Regions from separate parts of the Homo sapiens genome. Here regions 1 and 2 are each linked to region 3. Evidence: promoter capture Hi-C in human tissues and cell types (Jung and others, 2019). All regions are on one chromosome and are shown on one strand. The core of a region is centred on a gene start or on the middle of the fragment in contact, and the rest is flanking DNA. Distances in the headings are between cores, read along the strand shown. Region 1 overlaps SLC37A1 (solute carrier family 37 member 1). Region 2 has its middle 37 kb from the start of ABCG1. Region 3 holds the start of TMPRSS3 (transmembrane serine protease 3).

Region 1 (2,859 bases), core at 289-2,788, 170 kb before region 3:
TGGCAACTCCTGATTTTCGCCTGGCAGGTGCAGCCACTGTGCGTGCTCCCCATACAAGGGCTCAGGGAAGGCCACAGCCGTGCCGTCAGGCTGCACATGGGCGAGGAGACTGGCACTCTGCCAGCTCCACCTGCCTGCTCCCTAAGGGGATGGCTTGCTTATTCTGCCACCTTTTTAAATTCCAGAATATGCCACTGAATTCTCTTCAAGAGCTTCGACGATGCTGGTAACACTCAGAACCCTGTATGATTTTGGACCAATTGGTTTTTCTGTAATTTAAATAAGATTCTGCCTTTCTTGAGATGAAGGCGATAAATAATGAGTGGACCTGAGTTAGCCCACGGGCTGTAGTTTGCCAACCACTGCCTCGGGTGAAAACCTGGACACGCACAGCTAGTCACACGCCCGTCTCTCTGAAGCCACCCAGGCATGCGTGACCATCTCTGTGTGCCGATGTCCCCTGCTCATCTGCTCGTATAGTAAGAAGCCGGCCCACCCAATGTTATAGATGCAGTTGGAACCCTGGGTACCTGTTCACGAGCATGTGACAATGTGATTTCCCCTAAGACACCAAACCTCCCAGAGCTAAAACTCTCTGCGCACCTACAGAGCCCGTCCCGTCAATGATGGCCGTCACGGTGGAGAGGGCGTGCGCGTTGCCTTTCAGACTTTTATGAGTCCCCTAGAAGAGAGGAAAAACAGACGTGCAGTTATCGCCACAGCATGAGAAGTAAACCTAAGCCTCTGTATGACCATTTACTCAAACTGCTCTGCAAAACAACTCATCGTGAGGGTGTTTCCCATTATTTAAACTCCACCCCAAGCTTGCCTTGGAGAGTTAAAACTTCAAGGGTTTTTAAGAGTCAAAAGTCATCAGAAATGCTTGGTTCTAGTTACAAGAACTCTTAGGATTCTCTTCAAATAAAAAACGTTTGTTCCGCACAGTCCTGCTCCTCCCTGAGGCCCCAGAGCAGCCAGCGTGAGAGGCGTGAAGGTGCGCAACGCGCGCCCCTGCCCTGAGCTGCGCCGGCCTTCCTTCCCAGACACATCCACGTGTCTGCTGGATTCCTCGACAGCCAGGGCCTTCCTGGGACCCCTGTCAGATGTCTCTGCAGGACCTAAAATTCAACCTGATCAATAGCAAACGCCAGGGGAAGAAGGGAGGAGGGGAGAGCTGAGAAACCAAGGCTGGCGCAGGTCCTCGGTGAGCAGCCGCCAGGAGCTCTGGTTTTGAAAATGTTGCATAGACAATGGGAAAAAAGCCAAAATGAGGACAATAGGAGGGGAAAAAGATCAGGGGAAACAGTGCCTAGAAGCCTAAAACTATAAAAATGAACCAGCGTTCAAAAAAATAAATGCTTGTATATGCACGTAATATGTATATAAAATAAAGAACACACAATATGAAAATCATCCAGAACCTACGTATTTTGAAGTCTAAAAAATAAGTGAAAGTCTCTCCTCTGCCTCTACCCCGTGAAGGCTGACCATTGCTAATGGTCTGATGTGGATCCTTCCAGAATTTTCCATGCCCATGTAGACACAAGTCTGCATGCTCACGCACACTCAGGCAGTTTCAGGACACGTCCAATACAAAGGTGACCAAGGCAGGGCATGGTACCTGGATGAGAAGGGCCGAATCCCCCAGCGCCTCTTCGTGGCCCCTCTCTCTCTGCAGAGGCGTCCAGGACAGGACCTCTCCCCTGCCCCCTTGGATTGAAAAGGCGCCTGAGTCATGAGGATGGCGCCCAAGAGCCTTTTGTTGTGCTGAACGGTGAGTTTTGCACCAACCTGCCCATGATTTTAGGAGAAGGGTGAGCAGCGGGGCAGGTGCGGGAAGGCTGGAGACCACAGGTGTAGGTGAGCTGCCAAAAACGTGCTTCTGCAAATGCAGTTTTACTAACAGTAATGGAGGCCACTTTTGTCATGAATGGCACATGGCAGGGTGCCCACAGGGCTGGTGTCTCTCCCGGTTCTACTCACCAGGTCGGCGGAGACGGCGGTGGTGATGAGTGTGTAGGGCCCACTGACCAGGGCTCCGCTGAGCAGCAGCATGGCTGTGGGAGGCAGAGGGGCAAAGAATGGAAATGTGCCCTCCAGAGAGCCCCGCATGCATAGGAGCAGCCTGAGGTGGGCGCCTGGGGAGCACAGGGAGGGGATGCAGCAGAAACAGCTTCCTCTAAACTTGTCTAGTGAGGAGCTAAAGCAAATCATACCCTCCCTAAGACTCAGGCTCATCCACCCTCGAAGGGCAGCAGCTGCCACCATGAGGGAGCGATCACAGGCCGGACCCTGGGCCTGGGCTGACCCCTGCTTCATCTGCAGCAGAAAGGCCTTCCTCTCCTCACCCACAGCTGCTGTGGTGCTCGCTGAGGGCAGACCCCCACCCTCTCTCCGGACCAGGTCATTTCCTAAACTCTCCTCTAGGCTCACACTCAGGTGAGGAAGCTTCTGGCCTGAGGGGGGGTCACAGGAAATTCCGCTTCCTCTCCTGTGGGCAAGCTGCCTTCTGGATAACATTTAAGGGGACCACACATCCCCACTGCTGGCTCATTAGGACAGAAAGCATACTTCTAAGTGCTGGAGGCATAGTTTGATAGCGCTGCCTGCAGGGTGTTCAAAATAGTCCTCCAAGGTTACGCAACCGCTCCTGGAGGGGCAGCTGACAAAGCTGGGAGGAGGTGGCTGGGGGGCCACCTGCCCTGGCTCCTGGCCGGACCCTGTTCAGGTCACACCGCCAGGTTCCTGGCTACCTGACGTGGCCCAAGAGCCAGCCTGAGCTGCTCTCACCACCAGGGGTGCAGGGTGCAGGTGGCAGGTCGCAGGCTGCTGCAGCCCCGCCAGCCCCACCAAGGCCCC
Region 2 (2,700 bases), core at 57-2,556, 210 kb after region 3:
ATACACCACACACCTCACACACATACCGTGCCACACCACATCATATACCACACACAACACATACAACACAAAACACCTACCTCACACACACACACCATAAACACACACCACACCACACACCTCACACACACACCACCACACATGCCACACAACACACACACTACACACACCACACCACACATCTCAGACACACACCACATCACACTACACCACACACCTCACACACACAACCACACACCTCATACACATACCACACACATATCACATATACATATACCACATACCACACACACACACACAACACCATACATCACACACACCATACCACACACACACACATGCACACAGTGTACCACACACCATACATCACACACACCACACACCACATCCACACACCGGACCACACACCATACAGACACTACATACACACTACATGCACACCACACATCACACACCACACATCTCCCATACATACACCACACCACACACCAGACATATACCACACAAACACACCACACACACACCCCACCACATACACACACTACACACACCGCACAGACACACTTACACCACACACACACATATATTTTTCCCTCTTCTAATAAACCATTGGCTTTGAATAGCTTATCTACTAAGCAGTCTCAGAATAGTTTGTATGTTTTTACACTTGTCTGCCTAATTTGTTTAATGTCATGAAGTCCCCTGCCAGAGTGATGTGTGCCCTGAGAGTCGGGCCGGCAGGCCTGGATTCCAGCCCTCATCCCTCAGCTGACCAGTCCCTGATGCTGTGCAGTCACACCACCTCTCCAGACCTCTTCACGAATAGGCAGGGTGGTGTGGGGACATGGTGCTGCCTCAAACATAAAACCTAGAAGAACAAATCCATACCCAAAGCCAGGTTTGGGATGCCCATGGCTGAGGATGGCTGGCTGGGCTCTGGGGCTGGAGGCAGGTGCTGGAGGGTCAGGAGTGAGGTGGGGATGGAGACAGCTCCCTGCTTAAAGCAGGGCAGGGGTCAGGCCAGCCCTGCTGGTGAAAGTGACTGAGAAAAAGCTGCTGCTGCCGCTGGCTGGGCTGGGCTGGGCTAGGGCTCCTTGGCCAAGGACACTGTGGGCAAGGGAGGGGATGGGTTTCACAGATGGCAGTGCTGAGACTCTGCTAGACAAGCCCCAGCCCCTAGGGAGAAGGAGGCTGGCCCAGGTGAGCCTTGGGATGGGAGGGAGCTGGCAGAGAGGGGGCCCAGAGCTGCTCCTTGGTTGGGGGACAAAAAAACAGAAACTCAAGTTCTCATGCAACATGAGCTTGCAAACCACAATTCTAAAACACATGGAGACGTCTAACAATCCACTGGCTTTGAATACCTTACTAAGCCTTCATAATAGTTTGTTTAAGTTTTTACAGTTGTCTGCCTAATTTGTGAGGCTTTCAAAGCTCCCCCCACTTTTTTTTGAGATGGAGTCTCATTCTATCACCCAGCTTGGAGTGCAGTGGAGTGATCTCAGCTCACTGCAACCTCCACTTCCTGGGTTCAAGCAATTCTCCTGCCTCAGCCTCCTGAGTAGCTGGGACTACATGTGCGTGTCACCACGCCCAGCTAATTTTTTGTATTTTTAGTAGAGACAGGATTTCACCATGTTGGCCAGGCTGGTCTCGAACTCCTGGCCTCAAGTGATCTGCCCACCTCAGCCTCCCAAAGTGCTGGGATTACAGGCGTGAGCCACTGCACCTGGCCTTTCAAAGCCTTTTTTAATGCCATGGAGTCACATAACTGAGTGAAGAGCTATCTGAAAACCAGGGCCAGCAGACCTGGATTCCAGCCCAAATGACCGATCCCCAAAACTAGCATTGGAAACATTAGAAGCATGCATTCACATCAAATAGAATTAATTTTATAGGACATTCTGGCGGAAATACTGAAGAAATTATTCAAATGTAAAAGAAGCAGAAGAAATTATTAAACAAAGAAAAAAGATATAAAAAGAGAATCACATTAAAAATTTTGAAAATGAAGGGTAGAATAATTGAAGTTTAAAACAAACCTTATACCTGGCAAAAAAAAGTAAAAAGAAGGAATTAATATAGGTAAAAGTAGAAGTCCCTGAGTTAGAAATCAGACATAGGTAGAATGGATGAATGGTCTGGTTCTTTGAAAAACATCTCCAAGAGAGAAAATTCAAAAGCCAACTTAGTTCTTTAAAAACAGGTTTAAAATACAAAAGTTGGTTTTCTGCTGATTCTTGAAGCTGCATCATTGTAGTTTGTTACACGAAGCTCTCTATTTTATGTTTAGACATTTCCATATAAAAAACTAAAAAGAGAGAAGAGAAATAGCAAGAAAACATTAACCAAAGAATACATGTAAATATCAGAAAAATAAATGTAAGGCAAAACCATGAGCAATAAATAGAGTGTCAGTACTCAATGACAAAGCTTCAGTTCACCAGGACAGTAAAACAAACATGTCTGTAGACAGGAGAGGGCCTTTCCCCAGCTCTCATCCTCACTGTCTCATGGCTTTTCCTAGGAATGTCAATTCCCAAGTACTTCTGGCCTGCCCTGCCTTCCGTATTTCCAGAAATGCCTTCTAACACAGAGATGCAGTCACTGCTAGTTGCGAGTTATACAGAACATCCCAAAATGACAGAGCCCCAGAGACATAGGTGACACCAGCCGCATCTGTGACATGAGAGAACACAGGCA
Region 3 (2,700 bases), core at 34-2,533:
TTTTGTGGAGCGCAGGCTGTGATGAGCATCTTCAGGCTCCCCATCTTTTGTCTGCAGGAGTAGCTGCAGAATTGAACTTGGGGGCTCAGTTACAGGGAGGGACAGAAACCCCCACCAGAGAGTATGTCTGCCCTCTTGACGGTCACATGCTCAGCACTGGGCAGAGCCTACCCCTTCTTTCAAGTAAAAGGAGCGGCTGTGTTCCGATCACTCCCTGATGCAAAGCTTCTGAAAAGGTTTGCTCACCTTACTGACTAATTAAAGGGAAGCCACATTTTTCCCTCCCTGGTCTCTGCAGCCATACCACCAAGGGCTATTTGATAGGCCCACGGCAGCTTGGGTTACACAGATGCCCGCGATAATGCCATTTGCTGCGATGATTGAGTCGACAAGGCTGAGTGACTTGGGGAAAATATTCCCCGATTGGACTAACCTGTTGGCGGCCTGCTTACCATCACACTTGTTTTTATAATGAAAAAGGAAATTATTTCTGCTTTTAATGATGGCAGCTCCAGAAATGGTGAGTAAAATGGGTGTGAGGAGAGAAGATGCTTCTCAACACTTCTCAGTGTTGTACAGCTTGCCAACCACAGCCTGTTTGGGAGGGGATGTTCTCACCCAGGTTCCATCTTTCAGAAGCCATTTGCCCACTTATTCTTTTTATATGGATAAACGATGTAATTTGCTACATGCTGATAATAAACAGAGGTATCAGCAAGAATGAAAGCCAGAAAATGGCCCAACATGAACTTCTTGCTTTTCTAAGTTACTCTTTCAAGCTCTTCTTGCGATAGAAATGAAATGAACATTTTTGGCACAGAACTCTTGTTTAGATTTTACTATGATCTTGGGAAACACGGGTTGCTTCAAATGGCTTACTAGATCCCTTTGGAATTTCAAACGTTACAACAGGTAGTCACAAAGGGAATGAAAGCGGATGATCTGAGTGTCTGTGCTGATGTGCCTGCTGGAGCCCCTGTGGATTTTAGCCCTTGGAGGAAGCAGGTTCCCAGAGCAGCCATGCCTGATATCTGGGAGAGGGAACTAGAATTTAATTGGGAATCTTCTGCTATTTCCCTGCTTCCTCCGCCCTCTCAGAGTTACAGGGAATGACTTAGAAAGGTCTCTGGTCTCCTTGGCATTGTGATAGGTGGAATTCTTTCGTAGGAAACACAGCCCCGGGGTTATTTTGATGCAAGCCGTTGGTCCAAAGCCACTCCCCACTTTGCTATGTGGGGGAAGGACCGGGCACCGGACGGCTCGGGTACTTTCGTTCTTAATTAGGTCATGCCCGTGTGAGCCAGGAAAGGGCTGTGTTTATGGGAAGCCAGTAACACTGTGGCCTACTATCTCTTCCGTGGTGCCATCTACATTTTTGGGACTCGGGAATTATGTGAGTACCGAAACTACTTATGCTTATGGTAGGTGTACCACACGCACAGGGAAAGAATTGCGTTTATGTGGGACAGGTGAAAACAATCGCAAAAAAGCAATGGAAAGGGCTTTGAGAGTAATTTATCTTCTGAACAATAGCAATATGGCAACTTCTAAATGGTGAGAGGGAGTCCCTCTAAAGCAATCGATTTGAAGATTGGTTGGACAAACAATGGGAAAGTCATTGTCTTAGCAGAATTAAGTTCATACTTTTTTTTTTTTTTTTTTTTTGCTAATTCTAGAAGCTTTTCTGTTATCTGCTGTAGCTCAGACGAAAATGCATTCTCACCAGATGACTGTTTTTGGTTAATCGATACTGAATGCGCTTTGTGTGGACTGTCGAATTTCAAAGATTTACCGTATGACCAAGATGCACCTGATGCTACAAGTATAAATAGGGGAACAAATGCTTTCTGTTCTTCCTCGGCTAAGGAGGTAGAGGTGGAGGCGGAGCCGGATGTCAGAGGTCCTGAAATAGTCACCATGGGGGAAAATGATCCGCCTGCTGTTGAAGCCCCCTTCTCATTCCGATCGCTTTTTGGCCTTGATGATTTGAAAATAAGTCCTGTTGCACCAGGTAAGTGGACCCAGGTGAGGACTCTGTGATTTCTGCCCATACCCTCATGTAGGTGACCAATGTGACTGACTGTCCCTGTGGGGGAAATATCTCCCCAGCCATTCTGACACCCACAGGCTGGACACCTGCACTTCCCTAGATCTGCAGAATCTCAGGGAGAAGGGGCATTGGAGAGGGGATCGTTTCGTTAAGCCCTTTGCTCTCTCCCTGGAGACCGGTGTTTTCTTCTCTTGTTGGAGGTTTTCAGAGACTGGGGCTCCACAATTGTCCTGTCAATCCTGAAGGAGGTCAGATCCTGGCCAGGAAATCTCTGAGTCCTCCAGGAAGTCCTGAGAAGCAGTGGCCACCAGTCCCTCCGAAAACTCAGGATAAACTGGATGTCGCCAAAGATATTAGAGGCCTAGATTAAAATCCAGCAGCAGATGACGGAGTGGCTCCTAACAACTGAAGGAAAAAAGTTGGTTTCGTAAATAAGTCACAAATGCCTGATAAAACAGTGGACTCTCTAGCAACCTATACGGCTAGGATCTTTTTGACCAGAGATAGTCAGGACTGGTCAAAGGGAGCTGTGGGGTTGCCGGTTCTGGAAGTCAGGGCTTGGACGCAGGCAGATTCCTGACACATTGGTGCTAGGGAGGAACCACAGGAGCTCTGCCTGAGGTTCCAGAAAGTGGGAGTGGGGGTCACCC

The links. Contacts are between HindIII fragments. The study calls those that stand out against the background at their distance.
Region 1: a fragment that was not itself captured here is called in contact with the fragment with the promoter of TMPRSS3 in region 3 in 2 of the 25 tissues and cell types used here (mesenchymal stem cells and spleen).
Region 2: a fragment that was not itself captured here is called in contact with the fragment with the promoter of TMPRSS3 in region 3 in 2 of the 25 tissues and cell types used here (lymphoblastoid cells and mesenchymal stem cells).

What each region holds. Positions count from the first base shown.
Region 1 is chr21:42,566,183-42,569,041 of GRCh38, reverse strand. It overlaps SLC37A1 (solute carrier family 37 member 1), which reads right to left. Exons shown (of 20, transcript NM_001320537.2): 16 at 1,984-2,057; 17 at 604-682. Among named protein-coding and RNA genes, the nearest start is that of LINC01671, 47 kb to the left of the region's middle. RefSeq lists an enhancer at 2,430-2,859. The HindIII fragment of the contact is 4,706 bases long and covers 1-2,859 here.
Region 2 is chr21:42,181,266-42,183,965 of GRCh38, reverse strand. No RefSeq gene overlaps it. Among named protein-coding and RNA genes, the nearest start is that of ABCG1, 37 kb to the left of the region's middle. The HindIII fragment of the contact is 4,033 bases long and covers 1-2,700 here.
Region 3 is chr21:42,394,635-42,397,334 of GRCh38, reverse strand. TMPRSS3 (transmembrane serine protease 3) reads left to right here and starts at 1,283. Exons shown (of 13, transcript NM_001256317.3): 1 at 1,283-1,393; 2 at 1,867-2,011. The coding sequence starts at 1,918. RefSeq lists an enhancer at 1,991-2,700. The HindIII fragment of the contact is 3,128 bases long and covers 1-2,535 here.